Linked DNA regions of Homo sapiens: region 1 is linked to region 2. Evidence: promoter capture Hi-C in human tissues and cell types (Jung and others, 2019). All regions are on one chromosome and are shown on one strand. The core of a region is centred on a gene start or on the middle of the fragment in contact, and the rest is flanking DNA. Distances in the headings are between cores, read along the strand shown. Region 1 has its middle 130 kb from the start of WSCD1. Region 2 holds the start of EIF4A1 (eukaryotic translation initiation factor 4A1).

The links. Contacts are between HindIII fragments. The study calls those that stand out against the background at their distance.
Region 1: a fragment that was not itself captured here is called in contact with the fragment with the promoter of EIF4A1 in region 2 in 1 of the 25 tissues and cell types used here (esophagus).

Annotation. Positions count from the first base shown.
Region 1 is chr17:6,198,398-6,201,142 of GRCh38, reverse strand. No RefSeq gene overlaps it. Among named protein-coding and RNA genes, the nearest start is that of WSCD1, 130 kb to the right of the region's middle. The HindIII fragment of the contact is 5,717 bases long and covers 1-2,745 here.
Region 2 is chr17:7,571,411-7,574,241 of GRCh38, reverse strand. EIF4A1 (eukaryotic translation initiation factor 4A1) reads right to left here and starts at 1,417. Exons shown (of 11, transcript NM_001416.4): 1 at 1,378-1,417. The coding sequence starts at 1,400. It overlaps SENP3 (SUMO specific peptidase 3), which reads right to left. Exons shown (of 11, transcript NM_015670.6): 11 at 2,273-2,831. The coding sequence ends at 2,759. SENP3-EIF4A1 (SENP3-EIF4A1 readthrough (NMD candidate)) reads right to left here. Exons shown (of 22, transcript NR_037926.1): 11 at 2,763-2,831; 12 at 1,378-1,958. RefSeq lists enhancers at 60-189, 1-407, 408-1,163, 1,670-1,739, 1,860-1,919 and 2 more and silencers at 330-469, 1,370-1,429, 1,440-1,499. The HindIII fragment of the contact is 10,064 bases long and covers 1-2,831 here.

The DNA.
Region 1 (2,745 bases), core at 70-2,569, 1.4 Mb after region 2:
TTATGAGGGGTCTGGATTGGGTCTTAAGGCATCACAGTCTCAGAGTCTCCATGTCCAATGTTGATGTCCTGCAAAATTGCCCATGTTCAACAGTAGAGCACCAAGGCCTAGCTGAGGATACCAGGCCAGCTCTCGGCTACTGAGGTGCTTTCCTCTTTCCTACCCAGGAAGCATTCCCAGATGTTTCATTTTGTCCACTCTGTGCAATGGCCTGTGCACTGGGAGTCCAGAGAGGAAACAGCCATAGTTCCACCCCAGGGGAGCTCTCATCTTAGAATGGGGACAGGCTTGTCACTAATTGTGGTAATATTCTCAATTCATAAACTCAGCTGAGCAAAAAAAATTAGACTTTATTTTTCTGTAATTCAACCTAATTTCTGTCTCAAGCGTCCCATTCAGCTGGGATAGAAACTTATTTTCAGTTGCTATGGTCTGAATGTTTGTGTTCATAAGTTGAAATCCTCACCCCCAAGATGATAGTATGAGGAGGTGGGGCCTTTGGGAGGTGATTAGGTCAGGAGGGTGGAGCCCTCATGAATGGGGTTAGTGCCCTGATAAAAAAGGCTGCAGGGACATCCCTTGCCCCTCCTACCATGTAAGGACATGATGAGAAGGCATCATCTATTGACCACGAAGCAGGCCCTCACCATCCGGTGAGGACACAGTGAAAAGGCATCATCTATTGATCAGGAAGCAGGCCCTCACCATCCGGTGAGGACACAGTGAAAAGGCATCATCTATTGATCAGGAAGCAGGCCCTCACCATCCGGTGAGGACACAGTGAAAAGGCATCATCTATTGATCAGGAAGCAGGCCCTCACCACACGCTGAATCTACTGTTGCCTTGATCTTGGACTTCCCAGCCTTCAGAATCATGAGAAATAAAATTGTGTTACTTATAAGCTATTCAGTTTATGGTATTTGGTTATAGCTGCCTGAATGAGTTAAGAAATCTGTAATTGTCTCCCTGTCTGTCTTCACGGCTGCATCTCCATGTTCAGGAGGGCTGATATAGTGGAAGGGGTGTGGTCAACAATTTGAAATAAAAATTCTAGGTGATGTTATCAAGGTGGGGTGGGGGAAAAATGGGTGGACATGGCCTCACCCAACTCAACTCATAATAAAACTATGCTAAGGTTTCATCTCAGTCAACCAGAGGGATGTATTTACAGATTTGTGCTGGAAATTGCTTAAAAAATGTATGTTTGCTAATAAAGTTATAGAAAATGTAATTTTAAGTCCAGCACAGGAAAAATATCATATCTGAAATAACAACAAAAACAACTTGATCAACCCCATGAGAAACAAGGAAAGGAAAATAAAGAAAAAATAGGAAGTTGGGAAACCAAAATAAAACAGCAGAAATAAATATAGATTATCTATTACATAATGCAAACATATTAAATTTACCAATTAAAAGAGATTCTTAAATTTGATTTTTAAAAAAATGGTTGCTATTTAAGAGCATCTATAACTATTTATATAAGAGCAACTCATGTACTATTTAAAAGCAAAAGAGCTAAAACTAAATGACACCAAAGTATTACAAATAAAGAGATAAATAGCAATAACAGACCTGCAAAAGAAATATAGTCAGGCATCACTTAAAAACTGGGATACACTCTGAGAAATGTGCTGTTAAACAATTTCGTTGTGTGAACATCATCGCGTGCACTTCACAGAAACCTGGATAGTATAGCCTATTACATACCAAGGCTATAGCATATAGCCTACTGCTCCCAGGCTACAAACCTGGACATCGCGGTGGTGTACTGAATACTGTCAGCAATTGTAACACAATAGGAAGTATTTGTGTATATAAACATAGAAAAGAGACAGTAAAAGTGTGACATAAAAGATTATTTAAAAATGACACTTCTGGCCGGGCGCAGTGGCTCATGCCTGTAATCCCAGCACTTTGGGAGTCCGAGGCAGGCGGATGACGAGGTCAGGAAATCGAGACCATCCTGGCTAACACAGTGAAACCCCTGTCTCTACTAAAAATACAAAAAATTAGCCAGGTGTGGTGGCGGGCGCCTGTAGTCCCAGCTACTCGGGAGGCTGAGGCAGGAGAATGGCGTGAACCCGGGAGGCAGAGCTGGCAGTGAGCCGAGATCGCGCCACTGCACTCCAGCCTGGGCGACAGAGCAAGACTCTGTCTCAAAAAAAAAAAAAAAAAAATGACACTTCTATACAGGACATAAGTTTCTATACCAGCTGAATGGGAAGCTTGAAACAGAAATTAGGTTGAATTATAGAAAAATTAAGTTTTATATTTTTGCACAGCTGAATTTGTGAACTGAGGATATTACCACAACTAGTGATGAGAATATCCCCGTTCTGAGATAAGGGCACTTACTATAAATGCAGGAGCTTTCAGGACTGGAACTTGCTCTGGGAGAGTCAGTGTGTGAGTGGTGAGTGGGCATGAATGTGAAAGTCTAGGACATTACTGTACACTACATAAATACTGTGCACTTAAACTACACTCAAATTTATTTTAAAATATTTTTCTTCAATAATGAATTAACCATAGCTTATTGCAACATTTTTATTTTATAAGCTTTAATTTTTAAGAACGGGCACGGTGGCTCACACATGTACTCCCAGGACTTTGGGAGGCTGAGGCGGGCAGATCACCTGAGATCAGGAGTTTGAGACCAGCCTGGCCAACATGGTGAAACCCCATCTCTACTAAAAATACAAAAATTAGCCAGGTGTGGTGGTGCACACCTGTAATCCCAG
Region 2 (2,831 bases), core at 168-2,667:
AGTTTTGTCCCCTGCCCGACCGAAGCACTCAGAAATCCTGACAGCCGGGCTCTGTCAGGAGTGGCCTGCATGATGCCATCAATCTGCTGTCCCAGATCCAACTCCCACCAGCTCCCAAAAAATACCCAAAGGAGGAGTTTCTATAAAACTGAGGCATTTGCCCCATGCAGGCAGCGGCTCAGGCCAGGCCACCCCCGACATAAGGGGGTGACCCTTTCTGAAGACAGGCCGGCAGGCGTGCCGCCGCGCTCACGGTGCCCAGAGGTGGTGCTTGCCGCCGGGTCCACGTGGGCCCGACCCAGCCGCTTAAAGCCCAAGCGCGTGCACCTCCCACCGCAGCACCAGCGCGCTGGAAGTCCCGCCCTTCACCTCCCAGATCGGAGGGTAGGACATCCCCTTCCCCCCACGTCATCCCGCCCGCGCCCTCCCCCACTCCCTCCAGCCGAAGCCCCCCCCTCGCGTTGCCCGGATGTGGGAGGCCGCGGGCGGTGGCGGCCTCGCGCACAATGAGCCCAAGCCGAGCTAGCAAAGGGGGAGATTGCACAACACTTAGAAGCGAAGCAGACTGGGGGAGGGGAACGCCTCAGGCCACCATGTGCTCGCTCCCTCGACCACCCGGCGGCGTCTCCCACCCCTCCATGAACAATCCACATCCCGCCCGCCCCCGTCGCGAAGTAGCGTCGCCCTCCCATACCTCAGGCCGCTCACCCCCGAAGGAAGGTGGACCTGCCCATCCGCAGTTTGCCAATAGCCCGGCTTGTGCGGCAAAATGGACCCGCCCGCCCGGCGCCGGGTGGGCTCCTGGTGCCTCACGCGGCCGCTCCTCGGGGTTAGGCTCAGTCCTGGCCGTCAAGAAAACCAGCACACTGAACGGCCGGTTTCTTCTCCCCGACCCGTGTTTTAGCCGCGACGAAGTGACTGGATCTAAGGACCAGGCACCCCCGCCTCTCGCGAGTGGTACCGTCAGAATGCTCCGGAACCCCGCGCGCCGTCCCTCCCCCGGCACAGGGAGGCAACCGGACCTGCCGGCTCTGGGCCACACATAGTGGCGGCCGCCTCCACCTTTCTTTCCCACGCCAGGTCGCGACCCCGTCTCGCCACTCAGCGCCGGGGCTTCGCGCATGGCACCGCCTCGGGTCGAGGCCTCGTAACAGACCTCGCACGCCTGACCCTAGCCGGGCTGTCCCTACCCTCCGCCTCGACCTGGTGGCCGCGTCGGCCGTGGGTCTTCCCCCTCGCCCCTCCAAGTCGGACCCTCCCCCCACCCGGTTCGGTTTCTCCCGCAACCCTGGTGGGCCTCTCAGCTACCCCCGGCGGGCCCGTCGGAAGGGGGCGGCAAAATAAGCAGCCACAATCTCTTGCAAATGCCTTTCTTACCGGGAATCCTGGCTCGCAGACATGATCCTTAGAAACTAGGGCGGAGTGCCCGCCTATCGACAACTTATAGAGCGCCCGACTCCGCCCCGGCCATCGCATTGGTTTGGCCGCCCCGGCCCCGCCTGCCGGCGCTCAGCAACTCGGCATGACGTTAGTTCCTAGTCGCTCCGGCCCGCAGGCACCATTGGATAACTCGAGTGCCTATCAAGGTGAAGGCCCGCCCCGCAGCCTCATTGGCTGGAGGGCCCGCCTTTCTCGCCGGTACGGAAGTGACATAGAAGAGTCAGGCCTCGAGGCCTGGCAGCCATCTTGGGGCCCTGCACTCTCACACGTGCGGAGGCGACAGTGCCTTGGTCATGTGGCTCCGTAGGCCCTATCACGCAAGGGGGGCGAGGTCTCAGCCTCCAGAGGCTTCCGGGCTCTGGGGGTTATCACTTCCCTTTACTTCTGCTCCCGGTCTCCACTGGACTCAAATGTTATTTGTTTTCCCCTGTAGCAGAGATGGATTCGACACTGCCTGGACGTGTGCCAGGGATGAAGGAATCAACAGCGATATCGTAGGGATGGGAGGATTCCCCTGGCTGGATGGTGGAGGGATGGAAGAAAACTGTAAAGGGCTTTGGGGTACTATCATGAATCCTGGTTGGTCCCCTCCCCAGTCCCTTGTGTCCAGTTCCCCAGCTTCCCTCTCGGATGCCCTTATTCTTGAGGCTTATCTACTTTCCCTCCTTCCTGCTCTCTGCTCCCATCTCGGGGATTTGTTTGGGTGAAGACAAGGTGTTGGCAGTGCCTGAGCCAGGGATGGAAAGCTGAACCCTTTAGTCTCAAGAGACTGGCTGGAAGGTCTGAGCTAAGCATATCCACTAATTTGAAGCCCCTTAAGGAAGACCACCACTTACGTATCAACAAAGGATCCTTTATTGACCAGAGCAGGACCGTGGCATTTATATATTTTTATATATATATATATATATATATATATATATATATATATATATATATATATATATATATATATATATATATAAAAGTTTGAAGATCTGGCAGGCAGTGATCCTATTGTCCGCCCACCACCCCCAGCACTGATTTCCTGCTCCCTGCACGGGGAAGGGGGAGGATGACTGCTCCACCCAGGCCACAGGGCCACACTCCCCTGCAAACAGAGGAAGAAAGGGGCTTTTCTGTAGCCACCCCCTGCACATCAGAAATCAACAAGTATTCTCTCAAAGAAAAAAAAATACAGAAATTGAAACATTTAAATATGAAAAACCAAAGGGAAGTGAGTGGGAAGAGGCAAGAGAGGAAAGGAACTGGAGTTTCTTGGGAAGGGACTCCCATGTCTCCCTTCCCATTTATGGGCTTGGGGTCTGGGGTACGAGGCTCACACAGTGAGTTTGCAGTGACACAGCTCCTTGTAGATCTGCCGACGAAGTTTGGGCATGTCCTGCTGGGTG